Regions from separate parts of the Homo sapiens genome. Here region 1 is linked to region 2. Evidence: promoter capture Hi-C in human tissues and cell types (Jung and others, 2019). All regions are on one chromosome and are shown on one strand. The core of a region is centred on a gene start or on the middle of the fragment in contact, and the rest is flanking DNA. Distances in the headings are between cores, read along the strand shown.

Region 1 (7,324 bases), core at 4,825-7,324, 350 kb after region 2:
TAACAGCTCTTCTTTTCTACATAATTCTTCGACTTGGAAATACCATTGTTGTTTAGATTTTGCCTTTCATTTATTTACTATTTTCCTTTTTACTTTTTTTCTTGTTAAATTACCAACTTGAACAAAATTTACAGACCAGTTATAGTCTGTGTATTGTTAAAACTAATATTAGAGACATGCTTATGTGTACCTGGCCAAGATGTAGGTATATCAGAAATTCTTGCCCGGAAATATATTTTCCTGTTTGCTGAGAAGTTGATGAGCCTTCAGTTTTATAAAAGGCAAATAAACGAAAAGGCAAAACCAGCTCTCCAAGAGAATGTCAGAATAGGACTGAAGATTAGGTGATATAAATACTCTTTTGAGACGTTTACACATTACCTAGGAAACAGTCACTGACTGTATAAAAAGAGGATATAGAACTAAAAGCTATTTGGTTTGTTTTAGCTTTGAATAGGAATGATTAATTTCCTGCTGACCTTATGCACTGGAATTTTTGCTTTTGGGCTTGTCTTCATGTGTTTATAATGGTTAATATAAATTTTAGGAAATAGAATAAAAAATAAAGCAGCTCATTAAGAGCTATGGCCATGGTGAGTACTTAACATATTGGTGAGATACTGTACAAAATAAGCAGATGGCTGGATGCAATGGCTAATTCCTGTAATCCTAACACTTGGGAGGCCAAGGTAAGAGGATTGCTTGGGCCCAGGAGTTCAAGACCAGCCTGGGCAACATGGTGAGACACCATCTCTACAAAAAATTTAAAACAAAAAAATTAGCTGGACATGGTGGCACATGCCTGTAGTCCTAGCTACTCAGGAGGCTGAGTCAAGAGGATGGCTTAAGCCTCGGAGGTCGAGGCTTCAGTGAACCAGGATTGTGTCACTGCACTCCAGCCTGAACAACAGAGCAAGGCCTCAAAAAATAATAAATAATAGCACATAACAATTAACCACCTTTTGAATTGCTCTAATTTTATTTTTGAGGATAGTTAACAAATATTTAGCTTTCATTTGGCTCAGGAAGAATAAAAGACAATAAATCCTTAGGTGTAAATGAATAGAAGAGGTCAAACTTTGTGATTTATTTAAATAGTAGTAGTTACAAAAGGCCAGTTACATAACTATCTCTAAAAATATTAAATTGATTCCCAACTGTACTTATTTTTTTCTTATCTCTCAAACTATCAATAGATTCATTTAATCAATATTTAATGTGATTGAGGACACCCATTATGTGCTTAGGATTATGCTAAATATTAATACTAAGGTAAATATAAAATAGTATAGTATATGGTCCCTGCCTTCAAGAAACTTGCATTCTAGCTGGAGAGACAAAAAGATACATACTTTTTAAAAGTTAAGTAACCCGAAGGTCCATCAACAGCAGAATGGATAAAAATGAATCATCAAAAAAAAAAAAGAGTCATCCATTTGTTTAAATGAGTATAAATATGTTTTCTATACAGAATGAAAATGAACATTGTTATACAACATGTATATTTCTCACATTATGTTCAATAAAAAAAGCCAAACACAAAAATATACATACTGTATGATTCCATTTATATGAAACTCAAAAAACTATTGTATTTGAGGTTGCATATTTAGGTGGTACAATTATAAACAAAATCAAGCCAGGAATTACTATAGTTTTTAGAATAGTGATTATCTTTTTGTAAGGGATAGGGGAAGGAAAAGGGTGTTAGTAATTAGGAAGGAAAATGGAGAGGATTTCTAGATAGTAACAATTTTCTGTTTCTGGACCTAGAGGAAGTTTCATAGTTTTGTTTTTGTTTTTGTTTTTGTTTTTAAGACAGAGTCTTGCTCTGTCACCCAGGTTGGAGTATAGTGGCACCATCTTGGCTCACTGCAACCTGCGCCTCCCGAGTTCAAGCAATTCTCCTGTCTCAATCTCCTGAGTAGCTGGGATTACAGGCACCCGCCACCATGCCTGGCTAATTTTTGTATTTTTAGTAGAGATGGGGTTTCACCATATTGGTCAGGCTGGTCTTGAACTCCTGACCTCTCAGGCGACCCACCCAACTTGGCCTCCCAAAGTGCTGGGATTATAGGTGTGGCCTCCCAAAGTGCTGGGATTACAGGCGTAAACTACTGCTCCCGGCCTTTTTTATTTATTTATTTATTTTTGATACGGAGTCTTGCTCTGTCCCTCCTGGCTAATTTTTGTATTCTTAGTAGGGAAGGGTTTTCAGCATGTTAGCCAGGCTAGTCTTGAACTCCTGATCTCAAGTGATCCACCTGCCTTGGCCTCCCAAAGTGCTGGGATTACAAGCGTGAGCCACTGCACCTGGGCCATAGATCTTCACTTTGGAATAATTAAGCTTTTTACTTTGTTTTGTTTATTCTTCTGTGTGTACATTATATTTCACAATGCAAAATATTTTTTTTAAAGTAAACAACAATAAAAAGCAAGTTTTTGCATGTTAGAATGAGCCAAGGGAGTTAGAGAGAGGAGAAACCATCATGAGATAGAGTAATCCGGGGAAGAATAGAAAAAGGCAGTAAAACAAGCCATGCCTTTAAAAATGGGAGGATTAACATGAATGGAGAAAAGGAAACACGTTCTGGATGAGGGAACCTGAGTGAGCAAAGGTATCATGAGCTTGATGAGTTTGGGAGATAACTGTGAGTAGGCCAGTATGACTGAAGTAGGTGGAGAACAATGGGATTCAAAATCAGTAAATTCGATTTGGACCAGATTATAGATTTTGTTACCAGGCAGAGACTTTTAGACTCTTTCCTTTAGGGAAAAGAGAATCAGCCTAATGAAAACAGCAAAGCCCATTTCATTTTTGTGTCCAAATTAAGGGCTTAATAACATTTTTATGTTCTTTGTGAGTATGTTTTAATGTGTATATAATTGCTTGTTTTTACATGGTTTGGGATTTGTGACAAGTCAAAAAAGGAAAAAATCCTAAATGTTAAATTTTGTGTCCCAAACTCCCAAACTTTTACTGGAGAGTTCCCTAAGATCCTCTGTTTAGAACCCAGTATTATCATTTTTTTAGAAACTATGTGTCTTTCAAGCAGGCACGGTGGCTCCTGTCTGTAATCCCAGCACTTTGGGAGACAGAAGGATTGCCTGAGGCCAGGAATTCTAGACCAACCTGGGCAACATAGTGAGACCTCATCTCTACAAAAAATATAAAAATTAGCCTGGCATGGTGTCACATACCTGCAGTTTCAGCTACTTGGGAGATTGAGGCGAGAGGATTGCTTGAGCCCAGGAGTTCAAGGCTGGAGTGAGCTGTGTTTGTGCCACTGTACTCCAACCTGGGTGACAGAGTGAGACCCTGTCTTAAAAGAAAAAAAAAAATTCTTCTGAGGGGTAACTACCACAGACTGGTTTTAAAATATTAAGCATCTGGCCAGACGCAGTGGCTCACATCTATAATCCCAGCACTTTGGGAGGTTTGAGGCGGGCAAATCACTTGAGGCCAGGAGTTCGAGACCAGCCTGGCCAACATGGTGAAACCCCATCTCTACTAAAGGAAAAAAAAAATTAGCTGGGTGTGGTGGCATGCACCTGTAATCCTAGCTATGCTGATGGGAGAATCTCTTGAACCCAAGAGGCAGAGGCTGCAATGAGCCAAGGTCACACTACTGCACTCTAGCCTGGGTGACAGAGTAAGACTGCCTCAAAAAATATAAACTAATTAAATTAAATATTAAGTATCATTGTCTTATGAAAACAATCAAGAAATTTAAATATAATTTGAAGAGTATAACCTTTCAAGCACAGTTAAAATTAGATACTATCTCAGTTCAATAACACTGACCTCAACTGAGAAAGTAAACATTGAGCACAAGCCTGACCAAAATAAAATAGGTTTATCTCCTGTTGAAATCAGGAATCTGCTTATTTGTTATTATTGCCTTTGGTAAGAGTTTTGATATAGATTATTAACTCATGAACAGTGTTTTAATTGACTTGCTAATGTATAAAACTTTTCATTTATTAGAATCGTTTCTTAAGTTACCTGTAAGGGGAGTAAGCCAATTACTGCTTTTGACTCCTAGTGGTCTTTTCATTTCTCATCTATTTAATTTGTGGATAATGTTTTTCAACCATCCTCTCTTTCTTGGAAAGCTTTCTCCTAGTAATGCCATTTATTGAATACTTACTACTTACTGTGAAAGAAAAGCTTTTCATCATATTTCTCATGTCACTGTGGTAAAAATTGGCAAGAAGTATTATCCATTGGAAATATGGCAATACATTTTCACTTATTTGTTTAATCACCAAAAATTTTATTGAATGACTCATATGTCATAGAAAGAGAGAACAAAAACAATTGTCCCTGCTTTTGAGGTCAATTTATGGTTTAGTGGCATAGGGATGGTTGGAGATGCTGGGAGTAGAAGCCAGAAAGTCAGCAGACCATTTCAGAACAATGTGATATGTGTATAAGTGTGTTCTGAGTAGGAAGGAAACACAGAGGAAAAGCACGTAAATCAGATGGGTGGTGGGAAGGAGCAGTAGGAGAGGGAAGAAGAGATGTTGGGAAAGACTTACAGGAGGTGATAACTCTTTTTTTTGTTGTTTGTTTGTTTGAGATAGAATCTCATTCTGTCACCCAGGCTGCAAAGCAGTGGCGTGATCTTGGCTCACTGCAACCTCCACCTCCCGGATTCAAGCGATTCTGCTTCCTCAGCCTCCCAAGTAGCTGGTATTACATGCACCTGCCACCATCCCCGGCTAATTTTTGTATTTTTGTAGAGACGGGGTTTCACCATGTTGGCCAGGCTGGTCTTGAATTCCTGACCTCAGGTGATCCAACTGCCTTGGCCTCCCAAAGTGCTGGGATTACAGGTGTGAGCCACTGCGCCCCGCCAGGAGGTAATAACTCTTAACTGGAATAAGAGTGAGTTAGTCTGTAAAGAGACAGGTTCTAGGAAAAAAGAACATCAACTGGATGTTCCTAATAATTTCAGTGATGTGCAACTGGAATAACCACAGATGTCTGAAAGCATCCCATCTCCTTTTAATGAACTCCAGTGTTTTAAAACTGAAGTATGAGAGCTGAACATCCAGTTACATGCTTTATTGTTTAAGTTTTCTAAAATTGTGAAATACAGTGTATCCAGAAAATTGTATAAAGCACATATATACAGTTTAACAAGTAGTTTGAAAGCCAACAGTCATGTAATCACCAATAGAACAATATCAGCATCCTGGAAGGCTTCTCTTATGCCTGCCCCTAATCACATGCTGCCCACTTCCCTGTAGTTTTGACATGTATGTATATCCCTAAACAATATATTTTAGTTTTGCCTGTTTTTAAACTCTATTTTATTGGGTTAATATTTTAATGTATTCTTTTGATCAATATAATGTTTGTGAGATTTGTCCATGTTGTTGCATATAGTTTAATCCAGTTCATCCTGATTAATATTTCATTACATGAATATACCACTATTCATTCTATGGGTTAATGCACATTCAAGAGTTCATTATGAACAGTGCTGCTAAAATTCTCCTGGTACTTGTCAGTTATCTTTTTTCAAACAATCTACTGTTATCCACTATACGTATGGGAATTATACGTATGAAATTCATATGTATTTTTAATTATAAAGTATGTTAATGCTACGCTTTTTCAAGCTGCTGATGATCCTCCATCAAGTATAGTTCATCTTTATTAGCAATAGGAGATTAGAAGTAAAAGCTTCTTTAAAGCTGGTAAAAAAAATTCACTAATCAAAAAGTTTTTTTTTGTTTTTTTTTTGAGACAGAGTTTCGCTCTTGTTACCTAAGCTAGAGTGTAGTGGCACGATCTTGGCTCACCGCAACCTCTGCCTCCCGCGTTCAATTCTCCTGTGTCAGCCTCCCAAGTAGCTGGGATTACAGGCATGCACCACCACGCCCGGCTAATTTTTTGTATTTTTAGTAGAAACGGGGTTTTACCACGTTAGCCAGGCTGGTGTCGAACTCCTGACCTCAGGTGATCCGCCTGCCTCGACCTCCCAAAGTGCTGGGATTACAGATGTGAGCCACCACGCCCAGCCCAAAAAGGTTTTTAAAATCAGTCACAGTCAGTCAGTGTCCAACTTGTTGATTATTGGCTATGAATGAAGAAAATTGGCCGCCTTAAAAAGTGACTCAATCCTAAAGCATTTTATTATAATTAAAATATTAATAGCAGGCCGAGCAAAGAACAAGACCTTGTCTTAAAAAAAAAAATTAAAAGTCTAATTTAAGTTACTACCTGGTCTTTCCTTTTAGTTTCCTAATCGCGCAAAATGAACAATAAGTCTCCCAGTAGCTACTGCGATTGTGAATAGGGCAACTGTATCAGAAGGGCTTGTTTGTCAGGTTTTTTTCTTTAAACATAAGCTGTTAAAAAAATTAACTTTTGTTTTTTATTATATCCAGGCATATTAACCCCAAATAACTATTTACTATTGGTATAAAAGGAAATAAACTGGAAGACCAAAGACCTGTTTTAATAGTAGGAAAATATAGCTTAAGCTATTTCATTAAGATCTTCTCCCTAATTCTTCCAATCCCCAAATGCACACAGTACTCTCCCAAAATATAAAATATCTAGTATTGATATTGAGACAAAGCTGCCCACTTGAATTTGGGATTTTGGCTGTAACCACTGTGCCTATAAACTTGCTGTCAGCCATTTCATCACTTTTGCCTCCATATTTTGTTTGTATAATTTATTTTCAAAACATTTTGCAGTTTCTATTGTTTAATCCTGCAAGGCAGGTATCATTCTCTTTATAGGAGTCAAAGTTAAATGATCATTTGGGCAATAAATTGTGGAATTTACATTCAAACTGACTCTGCAACTGGGCGTGGTGTTTCACTGCCTGTATTCCCAGCAGTTTGGGAGGCCAAAATGGGAGGATTACTTCAGGCCAGGAGTTCAAGACAAGCCAGGGCAACAAAATGAGACCCAATCTCTACAAAAAAATGAAAACAGCCCTGCGTGAACCTATAGTCCCAGCTACTCAGGAGGTTGAGGTGAGAGGATCACTTGAGCCCAGGAGTTCGAAGCTGCATTGAGCTATGATCACACCACTGTGCTCCAGCCTGGGCCACAGAGCACGACTCTGTCTCAAAACAGGAAAAACAAAACAAAAACAAATATCTGACTTTGCAGTTTAAAAAGGACATGCTGGCTGGGTGCGGTAGCTCACGCCTGTAATCCTAGCACTTTGGGAGGCCAAGGCAGGCAGATCATGAGGTTAGGAATTCAAGACCAGCCTGGCCAATATGGTAAAACCCCATCTTTACTAAAAATACAAAAATTAGCCGGGTGTGGTGGCACGCACCTGTAATCTCA
Region 2 (6,532 bases), core at 2,446-4,945:
TTGAGCCTAGGAGGTTGAGGCTGCAGTGAGCAAGATTGTGCCATTGCACTCCAGACTGGGCAACAGAGCAAGACTGTCTCAAAAACAAAATGTTGCCTAGTATTTAGTATTCCACTGGATGGATGCACCATAACAAACGTAATACCTTACTGCTGGATCTTTAGGTTGTTTCCAATCTTTTCAGAGTCATTAAATTTGATCATGTTACTCCTTTGATTAAAACCTTACTGGGCCAGGCATGGTGGCTCACACCTGTAATCCCAGCACACTGGGAGGCCAAGGCAGGTGGATCACTTGAGGCCAGGAGCTCAAGATCAGCCTGGCCAACATGGCGAAACCCCATCTCTACTAAAAATATAAAAATTAGCCACACGTGATAGCACACATCTGTAATCTCAGCTACTCAGGAGGCTGAGGAACAAGAATCACTTGAACCCAGGAAGCAGACGTTGCAGTAAGCCTATATCACACCACTCTACTCTAGCCTGGGCAACAGGGCAAGACTCTGTATCAAAAACAAAAAACAAAAAAACTTATCATGACTCCCTATTGTCTATAAGATAAAACCTAAACTCCTTATCATGGCAGCAAGGGCCTCCATGATGTGACCTTTTTCTACTTAACCCAGCAGCACTATCTTTTGTCATTCTCTCTTCACCTCCCGGCCCTTCATATTAAAATAGTCATGCTCATACTTTGAATTCCCCAACATGCCATGCTATTGCTTGAGTTGCTTCTGCTTCTTCTCCTTAGAATGCCCTCTCTCCAACTACCTGATAAATGTCAGCTTCAGTTTTCAACACTTAGCTCAGAATCATCTCCTTCATGAAGCCTTTCCTAACATCTCTCAGGCAGAACTGACCTTTTCCTTCTCCCTGTCTACACTGTACCCTACACATATATAGATCATAACCTTTAACTGCAATTATTTTTATATATGTTTATTTCCTACTAAGCAGAGAATTCCCTGTAGGCCCTCTCTTATTCATCTTTATAACCCCAGTCCTATACATGATAGTATGTAACAGGCATTCAATTAAATTTTCCTTAATAAACAATGGGCTCCCCTCCCCCTCTACTGACTACTCTCACATTGGACCTATAAGCCCAAGTTCCATTTGAGGAAACTAATTTTGCTGGCCGTAGCCCTTGGTCCCACCTTATTAGTTCTAACTGCAGTCCCATTAAGTCCATCCTGATCCTTTAGCTCTAGCCTCTACTTCTACCAGCTGAGTCCTCTGGTTTGTTTCCCACCTTCCCATTCAAATTCATGTCCACTGTCCAGCTGCTCCGAGTCTGAAGGTGTCTCCAATTCGTCTATCTCCAGGTCAGAACTGCCATCAGGAGAGGAAGGTGCAGACTGGGTGGGTGAAGCTCCATCATTTCCAGGCCCCTTAGTCAGACTCAGCCGCAACTCTGGGGCAGAAAGACGCTTGCGCATGGGGCGCTGGCCACACAGGGCTAAAGTGCTGGGGGTACCTGCAGCTGGAGAAAGGGGGAAAAAGAGAACCAAGATGGGTGTGTGTGTTGGAGAGCCGAGAGGGCTAGAATTCCTGTATGTGAAAGTGATAATATGGGGTGAATGCTGAAGAAGGACTCACGCAGGGGAGATTTGGGAAAAGGGGGAAATGGAACTGTAAAAGGATAGAGGTGGCATAGCCCTTTACTGGACTAGAATCAAGAACTTGAGGCCTGGTTTCTACTTGACCTACCTGCCTGTGAATCTCCTTTAGGGTCTTCAGGATCTTCAGAAGTGCCAGCCTCCTCAGGAAGCAATCTAGAGGGGAAGAGATTAAAAGGCGGCAGACATATACACCAAAGGCATCAAGCCAGGACTCAATATATAGGTTCTCTCTCCCCACCATGATTTTATCACCTATGCTGCTTTTTTTTTTAATTGTTTTTTTGAGACAGGGTCTCACTCTGTTGCCCAGGCTGGAATGCAGTGGCACAATCACAGCTCACTGCAGCCTCTACCTCCAGGGTTCAAGCGGTCCTCCCACCTCAGCCTCCCGAGTAGCTGGGCCTACAGGTGTGCACCACCACACTTGGCTAAATTTTGTATTTTTGTAGAGATGGGGTTATGCCATGTTGCCCAGAGTAGTCTTGAACTTCTGAGCTCAAGTGATCCACCTGCCTCGGCCTCCCAAAGTGCTGGGATTACAGGCATCAGCCACCACGCCCGGCCTCTGTTTTCTTTTTCCCATTTTTTTCCTTCAAGTCCTAATTCACCATCCCTGTGTCCATTTGCTTTTTTTTTTTTTTTTTTTTTTTTTTTTTGAGACAGAGTTTCACTCTTGTTGCCCAAGCTCGGGTGTAATGGCACAATCTCAGCTCACTACAACCTCTGCCTCCCAGGTTCAAGTGATTCTCCTGCCTCAGCCTCCCGAGTAGCTGGGATTACAGGCATGTGCCACCACACCTGGCTAATTTTGTATTTTTAGTAGAGACGGGATTTCACCGTGTTGGTCAGGCTGGTCTCAAACTCCTGACCTCAGGTGATCCACCCGCCTCGGCCACCCAAAGTGCTGGGATTACAGCCATGAGCCGCCGCGCCATCCCCTCCGTCCATTCGTGACCACCCCTCCCTTCTCCCAGCCACCCTCACACGTCCTCACCTAGGGAATTCTTCATCCTGCCATTCCTCCTTCAGCTCCAACTCCCCATGTCTCAGGGCTGCTCCTAGTTCTGGTGCTTCTGCAATCTCCCTGACCCTAAGACAGCCCCCAAGAAGAAAAGATCAAGGGAACTGAATAGTAGGTAAGAATAATTGAAATGAAGAACAGTAATTGAGATACAGAGCAGAGGATAGGCCTTCAAAAGGACTCAGATCTCTTGCCTCCTATACAGATGCTTCTCTTACCTTCACCACTTGCTAGAAGCAGATTACCTGCTGTTAAGTTTGGGAGCAGACGAAAGATGGAATGTAAAGTTAATCATATTTACCTCTGTAGCAGTTGCTCCACCTACAAAGTTGGGGTGAGAGATGTCCCACATTACAAGTGGCTGGAACCCAGCTAGACCCACCCAGCTATCATTGAGCAAAGTCGGGAAGACGGTACCTAGTTAGGCCTGCCTTTCCTCCACCGAGCTGGGGAGTGGCTAAGGGAAAACATGGCATAAGTGGAGGGGTGGAGGAAGAAGGTAAGGAGAAAGATTTGCCAGAACGAGAACCTGGACCTAAACTCGGTTCTGGTTCAGCTTTCCTGATGGCCATTCTGGAGGGTGAGGGTTAGAAAATAAAAGAACACAGGCAGATTTATCAGGTACAACATATTACAGAAACTTCCTTTATTTTTAAACCAGGGAATTATCCTGGAATCCTGTTCCCCAGTTCCATACCATACTGACATTTCCTACCTAAAACCACCCTCATCTCTTCTCTGCAAACTCTCTTACAGTCTTGTCTCCTTGAGGAACCCGAGATTTGACCCAGTAAGAGCTGGGTGGTGGGGAAGTCTCTCCGGACTGTTTATTCACTGTTACCAATCAAGTGAGCCAAGATCTTACTTACCCAACATCTGTCTTTTTTCCTGCCTCTTGTATAGTTCCCATCTTCACAAGTCTTCCTGCCTCCTTCTTTAAACACCTAGGAGTTGTTGGGGAGCTGGTTGTCCCAGCCCCCAACACTTCCTTACCTCTTTTCTGTCTCAGCTGTTGTAGCTCTTGCCTCCAAGGAGGGAGGTGTGGAAGGGAGGTAACCTCATCTTCAAAACAGGTTTTGCCACTCCTCTCCCCAGGAGCAGGTTTGCCCAAAAGAAAAACCCTGCCTCCTGTGAGGGGGCGGGTTTTGGGGAGGAGAGTGCATTTTCTAGTGGGGGCCAGTCTCGGTTGAGTCTAGGAAGGCAATTTGTTCTCCTTTCCAGACTCCATATATCCCTCTCAAAGTTGCTCTTTACACAAATAAGCAAAAAAACCAGTAGAAACCGTTGTGTTTCTGGCCGGGCGTGGTGGCTCACACCTGTAATCCCAACACTTTGGGAGGCCAAGGCAGGCGGATCACCTGAGGTCGGGAGTTTGAGACCAGCCTGACCAATGTGGAGAAACCCCATCTCTACTAAAAATCCAAAAAAAAAAAAAAAAAAAAAAAAAAAAAAAAATTATCTGGGCGTGGTGACACATGCCTATAATCCCAGCTACTTGGGAGGCTGAGGCAGGAGAATCGCTTGAACCTGGGAGGCAGAGGTTGTAGTGGGCTGAGATTGTGCCATTGCACTCCAGCCAGGGCAAAAAGAGCAAAACTCCATCTCAAAAAAAAAAAAAAAAAGAAAAAGAAACCATTGTGTGTGTTTCTAGGACTGTTATCTTGGATCTACTTTTCAAGCATAAGGAAAACTGGGGAAACGGAAGTATGTTATAAGGAGGTTTCTGGGAGAATAAACAAGTTGAACGGGAGGCTGAGGATGAGGGGAGACAGAAGCCTGTTGCTCCTTATTCCCAAAAAGAGTCAACAGAAAGAAGACATTAAGTATAGTAGGAAGAAGGGGGATCAATTTTGAGGAGACTGAAACAACTATCACAGAGAAAGGCCTGAATACACTTGTAAAAAAAGACAGTAAGACCCCCAAACAGGAAAAAATTATTTAATAGTATAACAAAATGCAAAATAAAGTACCCAAGTTACAAAACATAAATTCCTTTGGTTCATGATCACACCACTATTTTTACCTTCCACATAGCTACAGACATCACACCCTCAAAGTGAAGTCAAACTGTCCCCCTCATACTGAAGATGTCATGCCAAAACCATCACATACCCCACTGTTCAGTGAAACTGTTGGCAACTTACATGGAACAGAGCTGTGGGGTAGGAAAAAGGGGAAAGGGTTGCGTTAAAAAAAATGGGGAGACTCTACACATGCAGAACAAGTTAGTGGGAGGGAGTGCTCTGCTGGGTCAACACGCCATGAACCACACCCCTATTCGTGCTACATGAGGCTGAGTCCTTGCTACAACCACACAGAAATACAGACAATCAAGTGAACCTGAGCACCCCCAGGGATAACAGAAGAAAAATACAGAGAAGCAGAGGAGAGAAAGAATGGCAGCAAGAGGCAGATCACAGAATACCAGGGAACACCTAGTCCAAACCCTGTTTTACAGATGGGGAAAGTGAGACCTGGAGTAGTGAAGTGTCTTGCCAAAATACATAGTTTATGGGAGCATTAGAACTCCATGCTTCCTTTTAATGTGAGCAAGGAAAAAAAGAGATTGACAAGAAATTGATAGGCCTGCTAAGGCAGGAGACAGACCCAGGCCTCTCATTCCAGTTCTGTTGTCTTTTTGGAAGAGTGCCTATGAGGTCATTAAGGCCTTTCTGGGTGTTTTCTTGATTCTCAAGAGTCAGGGTTCTGGGTGGCTCTGGGACAGAGGGATCCAAAGAAACAGCCAGGCCACCTGATCAGGACAGAAGACAATGGCCTCTAATCTGTTCCCAAACTAGATCTGAAACAGTCACAATAAGCTAAGAATAGAAATTCAGCCATCTCTGAATCAAACACCATCACCTAAATGGTGGCAGAAAGAAAAGTCACCGAGCTGATAATCTGCTGTAGGCTGAAAACTGGAATAAATTTCCAAAGCGCACTCTCTTTTCTCTCTAGCTTGAGGCAGGTATTCAATAAATACTTGAATGAACAAGTGAATAAATGAATACATGGAGACCATCGATGAATGTTCAGTTCCATGACAGATACTGGTTCTGTTCAAGATCCATGCCGAGGACACTTTTGGGGTCTAAATTCTTTTTGTCCCACTGTGCTGGGACTGCAGATATGTCACATCGTGCCCCTGGCAAATAAAATAGAGAGAGGTGCAGATTTAAATAATAAAATGTGTCTGATTGGTAGAGATTAGGGGGAAAAGGTGGAAAACCATTCTTAAAGCAGCTGCTTTCTTTCACTTTTTTTCTCCTCTCAGTTTTATGAGAACAGTATACCAGATCCTGGAGCAATGAAGACAGAATTGCTGAATCTCCAAACATCTCAAAACATGCATTTGAAGTGAGTCAGGTAGCCTCACCCACTACCTCCTCGCCTCTCAACAGTCACTTCTTGGACAGGGAGGCTGTGGTAGACTGTGACAGTGAGATCTGACTGCACTTCTCGAAGACGGCCTCAGCAGAGAGTTTAGGCAGCCCCTGATCTAGAGGGCACTCATCCACCAAGCTGTTCATGGGCGTCGGGGGCAGCGGAGGGTCCTCCTCATCTTGACTCAGGCCAGAAATCAGGGAGTTACTTGCCCTGTCCAATTCCTTGTCCACTTGCTCCCTGGACACATCTGCTGTCTCAGGCTGTCCTGAAGGGATCTTCATGGAGTCAAAATATGCTGACAGGGCTTCCTGGAGCAGGGGCAGAAGTTTCTTTCGAGAGACCTGGGTGTTGCCTTGAAGATAGGCATGGAGGTTAGGGTGGGTACTTGAGGCAGGGGTCAGCTTCAGGGGTGGAGAGTGGGAGCGTTCCAGGACTTCACAGATCTAAAGAGGAGACAATAACAGGGAAATGATACACAACTTGCTGTAGCAAAGTGCTGG

What was found. The method cuts DNA at HindIII sites, captures the fragments that hold promoters and counts their contacts. A contact is called where the count stands out against the background at its distance.
Region 1: a contact is called between a fragment that was not itself captured here and the fragment with the promoter of BNIPL in region 2, in 3 of the 25 tissues and cell types used here (IMR-90 fibroblasts, lymphoblastoid cells and mesenchymal stem cells).

Annotation. Positions count from the first base shown.
Region 1 is chr1:150,686,007-150,693,330 of GRCh38, reverse strand. The region is part of intron 2 of GOLPH3L (golgi phosphoprotein 3 like); the gene reads left to right. Among named protein-coding and RNA genes, the nearest start is that of GOLPH3L, 7.5 kb to the left of the region's middle. The HindIII fragment of the contact is 5,683 bases long and covers 3,233-7,324 here.
Region 2 is chr1:151,033,749-151,040,280 of GRCh38, reverse strand. BNIPL (BCL2 interacting protein like) reads right to left here and starts at 3,695. Exons shown (of 10, transcript NM_138278.4): 1 at 3,515-3,695; 2 at 2,619-2,714; 3 at 1,713-1,777; 4 at 1,255-1,485. The coding sequence starts at 3,555. PRUNE1 (prune exopolyphosphatase 1) reads right to left here. Exons shown (of 8, transcript NM_021222.3): 8 at 4,568-6,475. The coding sequence ends at 6,047. The HindIII fragment of the contact is 8,096 bases long and covers 2,820-6,532 here.